Regions from separate parts of the Homo sapiens genome. Here region 1 is linked to region 2. Evidence: promoter capture Hi-C in human tissues and cell types (Jung and others, 2019). All regions are on one chromosome and are shown on one strand. The core of a region is centred on a gene start or on the middle of the fragment in contact, and the rest is flanking DNA. Distances in the headings are between cores, read along the strand shown.

Evidence for each region. Contacts are between HindIII fragments. The study calls those that stand out against the background at their distance.
Region 1: a fragment that was not itself captured here is called in contact with the fragment with the promoter of CSNK2A3 in region 2 in 3 of the 25 tissues and cell types used here (dorsolateral prefrontal cortex, hippocampus and pancreas).

What each region holds. Positions count from the first base shown.
Region 1 is chr11:11,505,431-11,512,066 of GRCh38, reverse strand. The region is part of intron 1 of GALNT18 (polypeptide N-acetylgalactosaminyltransferase 18); the gene reads left to right. Among named protein-coding and RNA genes, the nearest start is that of GALNT18-AS1, 61 kb to the left of the region's middle. RefSeq lists an enhancer at 2,231-2,732. The HindIII fragment of the contact is 4,338 bases long and covers 1-3,696 here.
Region 2 is chr11:11,351,181-11,357,936 of GRCh38, reverse strand. It overlaps CSNK2A3 (casein kinase 2 alpha 3), which reads left to right and starts at 4,687. Exons shown (of 1, transcript NM_001256686.2): 1 at 4,687-5,995. The coding sequence starts at 4,818. The coding sequence ends at 5,993. All of the region lies in intron 6 of GALNT18 (polypeptide N-acetylgalactosaminyltransferase 18), which reads left to right. The HindIII fragment of the contact is 7,765 bases long and covers 3,367-6,756 here.

The DNA.
Region 1 (6,636 bases), core at 278-2,777, 160 kb before region 2:
TTATGGGAGTAACTCTGTGTATGTATATGTATACATGTAAACATATGTATGTGTGTATATATGTAGACATGTGTATACATATGATGGTATGCATACATATACATATGTATATGTGTTGATCAGTTTGAGCTGCTGTAACAAAGCACCATAGAGTGGATGGCTTACAAACAACAGAAATTGATTTTTCATAGTTCTGGGGGCTGAAAGTCCCAGATCAGGGTACCAGTGTGGTCCGGGTCTGGTGAGGGCCCTCTTCTGGGTTGTTTACTGCCAACTTCTCATTGTATCCTCACATGGCAAAAAGAGACTGGGAGAGCTCTCTGGCCTCTTCTTAGAAGGGCACCAATATACCATTGATGAGGGCTCCACCCTTATGATCCAATCACCTCCCAAAGGCCCTACCTTCAAACATCATCACACTGGGGATTAGGTTCCAACCTATCAATTTTAGTGGAAACAGAAGCTTTCATTCCATAACACAGTGTGCACATGTATGCATTTTCTGGAGAGATAGTCCAAGCCTTTTCTCAGATTTTCTGAGGGGTGAGTGGCTCAGAAGTAAAGAACCACTGCATTAGCCAGGTCTCCTCAGGATTGTCTGGGGCCTATTCTGGGGATCACATGTATGGGGTCGCTCTGTTAGCTGTAGGGGACTGGCTAGGTCATGCTTCAGCCTTGGCTGCGGGGACACAGCAACCTTGAGCTGTAGCTCTTTGCAGACCAGTGTGTAAGGTCTGAGACCAGGGCCTGGTGGCAGTAATTAGCTTCAAGGAGCCCTCCCTGCGTGAAGCTGGACAGCCGGTCCCTTCAGTCTTCAGCAGATTCTTTGGCTGGGATTCCATGATTCAGCTCCTGAATGCAGCCCTTGAATACTTCAATGCCATTATTCACAGCGAGAAACCTCATTCAGTCCAAAAGGAGGGGCAGCCTGTTTTTACAACCCCCGGGAGAGAAGGCCTTCAGCTGCAGCCTGGCCCTCTCTTGCATCACCTGGCAGGCTGCATGTCTTTGTCAGGAGTCAAGTGGAAGGCGGTACCAGCTGCACGCCCCGCCGAGAGGAAAGAGTGCCGGTTGTGTCTGTCCGGGCACCATCCTCATGTTAGAGCTACAGAGAGGCATGTAGAGGTGGTACACAGAAGTCTGGGTCAGGAAGGCCTGCAGCCTGAAAGCCTGAGGATGGAGCTCAGCGAATGCATATATAGGGCTGAGCTCTGGGACTGTCCACTATCACAGAAGCCTGGCTTTGAAATGATGTTGCAATGTGCCCAGCCCTGAGATTTGCCCTGGAGTCACAGAGATCCCATTTTCTAGAGAAGATCACAGCCTAGAAGAAAAGATAGATGGGCCAACAGGTCACACAAGGTGGTGTGAAAAGTGGCACAGTAGCTGGATAACTCCTTAAAGGCAGGCACCTTCATTTCTATTTCTTGCACTGAGCCCCAGGTTAGACCCAGGAAATGCATCTCTGGAAGGCAGCTATGCTCACCACTATACCACCAATGCAGGGAATGCATCTCTAAAGGCATGAGTGCCTTGCATATAGTTTGTGTTCTAAGGGACTTTCTGCATGCCCAGTGCCTGGTACAAGGCCTGGAAATGAGCTGTACTCATGGAAGGTTTGCAGAAGTGACCTGAATAGAGGTTGGAACATGGTGAGGCCTTATCACAGAGACGACCCAGGGTAGGGAGCTTTACCTGGTTTCATATTTAATGCTTCTGACCTGCCCTTCTCACAGGGCCCCTGGGAGAGTATACTGAGACAGCAGATGTTAAAATAGTTTGTGTACTTTAGTGCCAGGCAAAATATGGGCTCCCATTAAAGGTGGTTTTCCTATTGTGAGGCTTTCCACACCCTTCATGTCACATTGCCTTGTGTGAATCTTGGGTGCTTCAGATCCATCAGCGTGGTCTCTGTGACTTGGTGGTAATGCTCCTTTTGGGCTGCAGCTGAGTCTTCCCTTGTGTTGAGTTTTCCATGCTGTGGCCAGCATCTGCATGTAGTTGGTACTCACTGGGCCATAGTGAAGTGTCTGGAGTGTTCTGATGCTGTAACCAGGGACCTTGGGTGCTCTGCTGGAAGGTCCTGCCCTCAGAAGGCTTCTCAGAGGATGTGACCACCGATGCTGTGTCTTATACAAATACTCTTTCTGCGTGGTGCTGGGAGTGACCCCAGATATAGCCAAAGAAGGGAGATTGCTCTCCAATTGTCACCATGAACAGGATCTTTCAGTTTCCCACAGAGGATGGAGTAGCGCATGTGTTAATCACAGGGCAGTGAAGGTCTTGAATTCAGATATGCCAGCATGTGGCCAAAGGCCTGTGGCCAGTCCTCTGCTCTCTGCCAGTGGCTAGGCACAAAGGGCTGAGGCCTCTATTTATTTCTGATGAGATGTGCTGAGGGAGAAATGACTGGAGGCATGGAGAGGGGGGAAAGTCATTCCGTCTTCAAAGGAGCACAAACAATTGATGTGACTCCAAGCTTTCTCTCCATTGTTCAGTAACTACTTATTGAGCAGTTACCATGCATAGCACATGATGCTAGGCCTGGGGCTAGGGGAGAAATAACACCAATTCTGTTCTTAGAGTTTTCACCCAAGGCTAGATTAAGATGTATTGGGTCCTAAGAATCACAGTGCTCCCTTCCCCTCTTTCCTGAATGTAATGCAAAATAAAAATATATTAAATTATGAATATATAAAAACAATTCCAGCAGTTCTAATTGTTCCCATGATAACTACTTAAATGTTTAAAAAATCTTTCTTTGGATATCAAATTGTTTCAAAAATATTTTGGTATTAGAACTTCACTGATGTTCTGAAAACAAGCTCAGTGTGCCATTTAGATACCAAGGGCCCTAATTGTCACAGATTAAGAGAAGTCAGAAAAGGAGGAAGCTTTTTTTTTTCTTTTCTTTAGCAAACACTTGTGAAAGATGAGAATCAGGGCATTCAAGACAGAGGATTCAGAATGGGCAAGGGAAAAGCATGGGGGTGTAGAAGAAGAAGAGAAAAGTTCAGTTTGGTCCGAGAGGTAGGGAAGTCATGGGAGAGGGGTGGGAGCTGGGGCCAGATCTGGTTGAGCCTGAGTGCCAGATAAGGAGTTTGGGTTGTATCGGGTAGTTCTTGGGAGCCATCAAAGATTTCTGAGCCTCTCTTTGTTATTGTAAACCAATTTCCACATTCAGGATATTCAAAACCACCCTTGCATAGCATTTAAGAGTATCTACAGTGATGGAGTGAAGCTGGAGTAATTGAGTATTGGTAATTGCTTTCACTGTGCTTTGGTGGAATGCATTTTAGAAATGGAGTTCTATCCTGTAAGTGCATCTATAGGAAAAAAGTGCCAAAGGCTTCATTATCATTAACCAGTGCCAAATGGGATTTGCAGAGAGAGTGAAGTGAATGAAGACCATGCCTCTGTCTTCTGATTACTGCTTGAATCTGTAAGGGAGGGATTACAATAATTGCAGCGACTAAAAAACAACAACAATTTGGGGAAGCAGATATTCACATGGCCTTGGAGTAACACCCACACATTACTTATTAATTACAAACGAATGAAGTACTTTTACGATGGAGAAATATGGCAGATGCCACCTTAATCAAGTGACCACACTTAGAATTACCAATAATGGGGCAAACTGACATTATGTGGCTTTTGATGGAGTGCAGTGGGATGAGCACAACATCACTTATGTAGTATTTGCCAAACATCTTTGACCTGAATCTAATAAAGAGATATTAATCAGACACATTCACATTATAAGATCTCCTACCTCAAATAGCGTATCCTCTAAAAATGTCAATGATTTAAAAAACAAAAAAGGGTATATGTGTGTAGAGGGAATGTTCCAGACCAAAGGAGACCAAAAAGATATATAACAAGCAAATGCAATGCTTGAGCTCAGATTGGATTATGAATCAGAAAATGAACAAAGAGCTATAAAGGACATGATTGGATAATTGGGAAAGTTTAAACATGGAATGTATATTAGATAATAGGTCTATCAATGTTAAATTTCTTGGGTATCATATGGTATTATGGTAATATACAATAATGCCGTCATACCTCAAAAGTAGAGAAGCTAACAGTGCAGCCTTCAGTCTGTGGTCGAAGGTAGAACTTGGAGTCCAATGTTCAAGGGCAGGAAGCATCCAGCATGGGAGAAAGATGTAGGCTGGGAGACTAAGCCAGTGTAGTCTTTCCAGGTTCTTCTGCTGCTTTTATTCTGACCACACTGGCAGCTGATTAGATGGGGCCCACCCGGATTGAGGGTGGGTCTACCTTTCCCAGTCCACTGACTCAAATGTTAATCTCCTTTGGCAATGCCCTCACAGACACAGCCAGGATCAGCACTTTGCATCCTTCAATCTAATCAAGTTGACATGAAATATTAACCATCACAGAGGTGGAGCAGGATACTCCTATAGAAAGGGAATATATATGTTTTATAAGGTTTGTAGAAATATTTCACACTTTAATCTTTGTGCATATAAAGCTTGGATCTATGTAAGAACTAAAAAGTTAGGGAAGGGGAAGAAGAAAAGAAAGAGGAAGGGGAGAAGGAAAAGGAAGAGATTAAAGCAGAGGAAGAGTAGGAGGAAAAGAAAGAGGTGGGAGAGGAGGAAGAAGAGAAGGAGGAGGAAAAATAAAAAGGAAAATGCACTGGGGCTTGTGTTTGGGAGACTGACTCAGTTCAGAATTTTCCTCTGAGACTCAGCTTCCATGTTTCTAAGATAGGGAAAATCATATCTCCATTGGTGGGTTTTTATGATAATTAAATATTCCTGATATAAAGTAAGTCTTCAGTCAATATTTGTTTCAATGATTTCTCCTTTTGTTTAGAATGAATGAGAGACTTAAAAAGTGGAAATTCTAACAATAGAAAAATTCATTTATTAATTCACTCCTTATTCACTTAACAGTAGTGTCCAAGTGATGATCCTGAATAACAGTGCCAAGGAAGCCAACCAACTCACAGATCACTTTCACCTCTGTTTGTTTGCCCACATTTTCAGGTTCCCAGTGTACAAGGAATGTGTTCTGCCAGAGAGTAACTTTCTTGCAGGTGCTCTTTCTATTGGGAGCGACCCTGAAGGGTTTTGTCCTGTACTTTTTCTTGTCTGGGGCATCTACTGTGGAAGATGAAGAAGTGAAAATGTGGTTTGGGAAGGGACATAGGATTATCTGAGAGAGGACAGGCTGGCCATTTTCCATGGCCAACTCTCTACCCTCCTCAGCAGCTGCACATTTTCCAGGATACCAGGGCTGTACCTTCCTTGGGTCTTTGGAGTTATTTTCTTGCCCATTGACTGGAAGTTTTGTCCCCTCAGTATCTGGAAGCAGCATAGTCTTCAGAGTTATTTCACATGCCTTCACTTTTCTAATAACACAGTTCTTTCTCATAGTCCTTTTAAAATTAACCTAAGACAAATACCCCACTTTCTACCAGAAAATAGCAATGACGGGAATCAATAGTTCTGGTTGATGCATGGCCAGCACTACTCCAGGAAGCCTGAGCCTGGGATGAGCACTGTCTTCAGTGCAAGCACTCTGGGAAGTCGCCCTGCACACGAAACGCTTGAACCACCAGTTGCTTTTCCTTGTCCCCCTCATAGCTATTTGGGGGAAGTATAGTCATCTGGACAGGGTCTAGATGGTGTATTTGACATCCTTGCCTGACTATCCTGGGTCTGAAGTCATCCCACTTTAGGAAAAAAGAAGCCACCTGTGAAGTGAACACATATTAAATATTTTGTAGTGGTTTCTCTTTTGCAAAATACATGAATAGCTTAGACCTAGCAAAACCATGTGGGGTTTTATGGTGTGTATGCATGTATTGGTTGTACATTTTTTATATTCACTTGCCAGAGGAGCTGTATGCTGGAGTTCTGGGGACATAGATTGTTTGAAATCGATAAATAAATTCTTAATTTTATTTTCACTGGTAGCTTCACCCTCTTGCTTGGCTGTGCCTTTCATCACTGAGGCTCCCGAGGACTAAAGCAGCCAGATGGTTCTGGGCATTACAAGTTGCTGCAGGGTGACTGCAGGAAACCTCAATAATACATAATTTTGTCCCTGAAAGCTGAGCTGAGCTTTAAATGCTTGCTAACCTGTACTGATAAGGAAGGCCATAGGGGAGGATGACTTCCTTTCAGAGGAGTGAGGATGGATGGCTGGCTTCTCTGACTCGGAGATTAGATCAGTAAGGCCTGGGCTAGAGGATTTACTGTGGAAAGGGTCCAGATGTGAAACAGTGGGAAGAAAGCATAGACAGAACTTGAAGGCATGCAAATGAAGGAGAGAGAGCAGGTACACTGGATTCAGGGAGGAAGCAGCAAGAGTTTGCAGGAGGAAGCGAGTGTGGTATTAAATCAGAATGGGGACTTCTGAATCTGGTGAGGAGGAAGGCAATGGAAATCTTAGTGAGAATGCTTTCATTGGGATGTCGGAGACTGAATCCAGATGATGTGGCATTGATGGGGGAGGAGGTGGTAAGGCAATGGAAGCTGTAATATGCAACCCAGGATGATGCCAGCTCCTATTACTTTGTGGTGATGGCCTAGAGCTCTTTGCTGAGCAGGTTGTTTCTGGGTGACACTGGAGAGAGTGCTGTGATTGATTACTTGGATC
Region 2 (6,756 bases), core at 3,438-5,937:
TAATAGCTACCATTTGTTGAACATTTATTTTGTATTTAGTGCATTTATTCAATAAATATTTATAAAGCACCTACCATTCTAGATGCTGGGCCAAGCACTGGATATGCAGTGATGAATGAGATAACTTAGGTTTGCCCTCATAGAACTTATATTCTAGTGAGTTTTATGCTGTATGTCATTTACCCCTCCCAAGAATCACAGGAAACCAGAATTACTGTCACCGGTTTACAGATGAGGCCACTGAGGCTCAGAGAAGTTAAGGAACTTGCCCTGGTCCCAAGAGAAAAAGTGGAGGAGCCTGGATTTAAACACAGTTCTGTCCAAAGCCTGTGAACCAACAGCCTGTGCTCTGAGAAAGCAAGTGGAGAAAAGGCATTAGACACAGCCATAAGAAGGCTTTGGGGGGAATAGTTGGAGTCAAGGGGAAGTGATAGAAGACAGATTTCAAAGGTCTAAGGAGGGAGTGGGTGGAGATTGATGGAAGGCGGAGAGTTTAGAGATTGTATTTGACCAGAAAGGGAGGCAGAGGGACTCCTTGGAGATTGTATTTGACCAGAAAGGGAGGCAGAGGGACTCCTTGAAGACTGGGAATCTAGTGCCTGCTTGCAGGCAGAGGGCAAGTGCCTGAGCCTTGAGAAAGTACAGACTTGACCTTGAGAGAGTAGTTGAAATTTTGTTGCCTTCTAGGTGGTCAGCTGTAGACAGACCTTCTCCTGGGAACTGTAGGGCCTGAAATTCCCAAGGTCTTTGAGGTCGGAGCAACCTGAGGCCTCTGAGGCCAAAGCATCTGCGATTTGAGGGTGTTCCCTAGCTGGTGATTTCCATATACAAGGACATTTCGGTACCCCAAGCAGCCAGTCTAGAACCAATTGGTCTGCCCCATACCCAGCGGCTCCAGGAAGGCATCTGAAAACATGGAGCAGGAAGCTCCGTGGCTATTGCGTGTTATCCCCTAGCACACCAGCCAGCCGTGGAGTGACTCTTTGCAATTACAAACCAGCAGCTGAGTAGACGCAGTTTAAAAGTACGTTGTAAAAGTTTTATGGTTAGTGAAGATAAGTGCAAAATTAATCCCTACAGAACAAAGCAATTTAAAAAGTACATAATGAAGTGATTAGCTAGAAATGGTGGGGAGCAGAAGGAGAGTGCCCAAGAACAATTTTACTCAGGAATGGTCTTCACACTTTGGTTTTTTCAATTGCATTCAATGAGGGAGCTGTATAAAAGAGAGATTAATAACATGCACAAACGAGGTAACAATTGATGAAGGATTTGGGGAGTCAACCTGAAGGAAATTTTTACCTTCTTAAAAAGTTTGGATGAAGGGGAAAAATAGCTATAAAGGCTTTGATTGGGACAATTGGTGAACTTTGATTATAGACTGGGGATTTGATAATAGTCATGTATCAATGTTTAATTTCCTGAATTTTGGAAAAAAGCAAAAACAAAAGCCAAAGAAACCTGGAAGCTCACAATGTATGTTAAAGCTCCCCAGAGTCATTTTCTGTCTCCCTTTTGTTTCCATTTTTGTTCTTTGTTCTTCTTTAGCTGAGTCTGCATGCTGGTCGGTATCAGACCCTGGAAGGTAGCTTCTTGGCCACCATTACATTGTTATTCTAGTTTTCCTGGAAGAGACCACCAAGCAAGGCCAGAATCATTTCCTCAGAAGAACTGCCACAAACTGAGCAAGGGTTCCTTCTCCTCCTCCTCTGACACTGCTGTGGTTTTCCTTGGACAAGATCCGATATTCATAAATCTGAAGTTGCAGAAGGAGGGGTCAGGGGCATCTCCAAATACAAATGTTCTTGGCTTTGTAAAGCAATGCAAAGGGCAGGGTACCTGTGAGCACATTTTTTTCTAGTGCTGTAGGTGCTGGTATCCAGAAATTACCCTTACACACAAGTTTTTCTATAAAGTTTGGTATCCAGAAATTACCCCTGCACACAAGTTTTTCTATAAAACAAAGCCTACCTGTATACAAAGTCAGTCCTGAAAATAAAGAGTTAACCCCTGGTGTAAATGGCCCAGGAACACCATTCACTCCTTTAGGTCTTGCCTCTCTCTCTTTCTGTCTGTCTAGTTTGGGAAAGTTCAAGAGACAGGGCTCTGGTCTCTGGAGCACTGAATGGTGGGGTGCTCTGTTTTATTCCTCAGGCCTGCTTCAAATGCTGCACATCAGGAGGTGAGGGTCTTGATGACTTGCTTAATTTTCACCACACTAGGATTGTAGTAATATAGAGAAATCATGGACTAGGGGAGGGAAAAGATTAGTAAGACCATGATTTTAAGACAGATACTTATTTGGGATTTCAGTGTTTCTAAAATCAGGTTGGACCTTATACATTTGGCATATATAAATAAATAATAAATATGTAAATAAATTTTAATTTACTGTCCAAACTAGAAGCTTTTGCGAGTGAAAGGGGGTGCTACTAATAACAGTGGAACACTAGGTATAAACCAGAATAGTCCCCAGCAAACCAGAACATATGGTCATTCTACTGAGAATTTTTTGTGCATGTTTAATCACCTCCTTAAATGCCCCATCTCCAATATAGTCACATGGGGAGTTACAGCCTCAGCATATGAATTTGAGGAAGGGGGAGACAATTCAGTCCATAGGGAGTGCTGTAACAGAAAAAACACAGTGTAAGTATCAGAAAGTCAGGGATTTTTTATATTTTGTTCTGTGGTAAGATTCCCATCTCCTACAACAAAGACTGGCACATAGTAAGTGCTCAGTAAATAATTGCTGAACTGCATTAAAGCAGAGGAGGGACATGCTCTGATGTATAATTTTAAAAAGTGGATTGGAGGGCAATACGGATTGAAGGGCAACACGACAACGCAGAAAGACCAGGGAAGAGGCTCTGGATGGAGATGCCCACACAAAAATAATAGGGACTTGGACCAGGATGTTGGCTGTGCAGATGGAGAGAAGTGATTAAATTCAAGCTATATTTAGGAGGTAGAACTGTCTGCTTTTGCCGATGTATTGGATGTGGAGAGGGAGGAAGAAGACATTGCTACAGATGAATTACAGGTTACAGGCTTCGGCTATTAGATGGATGAGGGGCAGACTAAGGGACAGATGGGGAGGCAGGGAAGAAAATCGGGAACTTCGTTTTGGACATGGTAAGGTTGAGATGCCTGAGACACATGAGAGTGAAGGTGAGACGTAGGCACTTGGGTATATAAATCTTGAGCTCAGAGGAATGTAGTGTGTTTTCCCCTGTCCCGAAAAGCTGTGGTATAGCAATAGTGAATCTTATCATCAGTGGAATATTATAGTGATAATAATTATAGCTGATACTTAGGGGCCTCTAAACTTCTTCCAGGTGATGAAATAAACTGTCTCTGTGTATTACTTCATTTAATTCTCACAGCAACTATCTTTGGAATTTATCACTTTTATCTCCATTTCATAGACAAGGAAACTGAGTGTTGGAAGGTGAAGTGAATTGCCTAAAGTCACCAGTTCAGCAAATGGGAAATGTAGGACTTGACACCAAGACTGTTTGGCCCCAGAGGCTATGCTCTGAACCATAATGACTTCCTGTCTTCCAAAAGGCAGGCTCTTGGATCCATATCTTACTGTGCTTCTAAATTATCCTGTGACCCTGAACCTTAGTTTGCTCACCTGGGAAATGAAGGGAGGTCCTGGTTAGGTTCCCTTCAGTTCTACTCTATTGCAGTATGCTGATCTCTTTTGTAAATCTGTATTAAATGAGAGTTTGCTATCGGTGACTTTCAGAGATGACACCAGTGATGATGCCCATGCTGACGATTCATTCTGATGTCTATGAAAAGAGCAAATCCTTTAAGAGAAGATGTAGCATACCAGTGTTTATAATCTGAGTTTCATTTGATTAAGAGGGGAAGCTCTTTAGAACAAATATCATTTCTGAGCGAGAGAATGTTCAGCATCTCAGCCTCATTTGTATCATTTGATAAAAGGGCCCCACTGAGCCAAGTGTGAGGATGATGCTTGAGCCAGACACATAGACACCAGACATTCCTCTGATGTCTGCTCCCCAGGCTTGGCCACATTGCCTCCCACCAACCCCATCTCAATGACACATCCATTACCTGCCATCAGTTGGCTCTATGGTGCTGGGAATGACAGAGTGTATCTACCCTGGATTTCAGAAAGAACCCTCCTGGCTTATCATGGCAACACCCTTTGGACACTCGTTTAAAGAGTCCTTCTTTGGGCCAGTGTTATCCTTTTGGGGGCATCTGGTATGGACGGCCAATTTGAATCTGACTGGGACATGCTAATGAGCCATTCATATGTGTGGGATTTGTTTCTGATTCGATTAAGCTTCAGAGAGAGGAAAGAAACAGCCACTGATTAGAGACATAAAAAAAGAAATACTTTAAGTGAGTAAGTGGTTCATCTTCATATAGGAAAGTATAAATTAAACATGGTCCAGGAGATGTGCTTTGAATAGCAGCTGGATAGCACAAGCATGTCCACAAGGAGACGGTGCCTCACAGCAATTGAAAGGGACTTAACCCCCAAAAAGGGCTCTGAATATGCTGAGTAAATAGATGAGCCCAGTTAGCTGATAAAAATGACTCTCAGATTAGAGATGGGAAGGTTTTTATTTGGATTTTAGAAAATTGCTCCCCACTCCATCGCCGCCATATTGTCTGTGTGAGCAGAAGGGAGAGCGGCCACAGCCGCTGCCGCTTCCACCACAGTGTGAAGAAAACAGGTCTGAAACAAGGTCTTACCCCCAAGCTGCTTCTGAACACAGTGACTGCCAGATCTCCAAACATCAAGTCCAGCTTTGTCCGCCAACCTGTCTGACATGTCGGGACCCGTGCCAAGCAGGGCCAGAGTTTACACAGATGTTAATACACACAGACCTCGAGAATACTGGGATTACGAGTCACATGTGGTGGAATGGGGAAATCAAGATGACTACCAGCTGGTTCGAAAATTAGGCCGAGGTAAATACAGTGAAGTATTTGAAGCCATCAACATCACAAATAATGAAAAAGTTGTTGTTAAAATTCTCAAGCCAGTAAAAAAGAAGAAAATTAAGCGTGAAATAAAGATTTTGGAGAATTTGAGAGGAGGTCCCAACATCATCACACTGGCAGACATTGTAAAAGACCCTGTGTCACGAACCCCCGCCTTGGTTTTTGAACACGTAAACAACACAGACTTCAAGCAATTGTACCAGACGTTAACAGACTATGATATTCGATTTTACATGTATGAGATTCTGAAGGCCCTGGATTATTGTCACAGCATGGGAATTATGCACAGAGATGTCAAGCCCCATAATGTCATGATTGATCATGAGCACAGAAAGCTACGACTAATAGACTGGGGTTTGGCTGAGTTTTATCATCCTGGCCAAGAATATAATGTCCGAGTTGCTTCCCGATACTTCAAAGGTCCTGAGCTACTTGTAGACTATCAGATGTACGATTATAGTTTGGATATGTGGAGATTGGGTTGTATGCTGGCAAGTATGATCTTTCGGAAGGAGCCATTTTTCCATGGACGTGACAATTATGATCAGTTGGTGAGGATAGCCAAGTTTCTGGGGACAGAAGATTTATATGGCTATATTGACAAATACAACATTGAATTAGATCCACGTTTCAATGATATCTTGGGCAGACACTCTCGAAAGCGATGGGAACGCTTTGTCCACAGTGAAAATCAGCACCTTGTCAGCCCTGAGGCCTTGGATTTCCTGGACAAACTGCTGCGATATGACCACCAGTCACGGCTTACTGCAAGAGAGGCCATGGAGCACCCCTATTTCTACACTGTTGTGAAGGACCAGGCTCGAATGGGTTCATCTAGCATGCCAGGGGGCAGTACGCCCGTCAGCAGCGCCAATGTGATGTCAGGGATTTCTTCAGTGCCAACTCCTTCACCCCTTGGACCTCTGGCAGGCTCACCAGTGATTGCTGCTGCCAACCCCCTTGGGATGCCTGTTCCAGCTGCCACTGGCGCTCAGCAGTAACGGCCCTATCTGTCTCCTGATGCCTGAGCAGAGGTGGGGGAGTCCACCCCCTCCTTGATGCAGCTTGCGCCTGGCGGGGAGGGGTGAAACACTTCAGAAGCAACGTGTCTGAACCGTTGCTTGTGGATTTATAGTAGTTCAGTCATAAAAAAAAATTATAATAGGCTGAAAAAAAAAAAAAAGAAAATTGCTCCCCAAATCCCTATGACATTTAAGCTCATTGTCATTCTCTGGCAGCACCAGTGACAGTAATGGGGGCCAGAGATCCTATTTCAAAACAAAGAAGTGATTACAGTAGATAGCGCAGGTGTCAATGGGACCCTGATTTGGAACTTGCTAATACTTCTGTCTCTGAGTTTGGGGCTTCTATAGGGTTTTGGTTCCATAGATATGCCTGGACTTGAACTAGCTTACCTTCCCAGCCTTGTGCATCGGGAAGCTGTGAGGGTCAGATCCTTCTAGATTTTGTGTCCCCTTACAAGGGTTGGAAGAGTCTGGCTGCAGCCCTGGCCTCACCAGCTGGCTCCCTCTTGCGTAAGTGGAGTTGCCACAGGGCTTCTGTCTGTGGCTTTCCAAGGAACCTGGAGCTGTATGTCATCTTCAAACCTGGACCTTTCCTCTACCACCCTGGCTAGCTTCACCCTTGGTTTCCTGCCCTCTGCTCTGGTTCTGAGTTTGAACCAAACTCTCACAGCAGCCCGATGTGCAGGAGTCCAAATGTCCTGCCTGCCCCTTGCAGCTCCCTCTCTCACCCCTTGGGGCT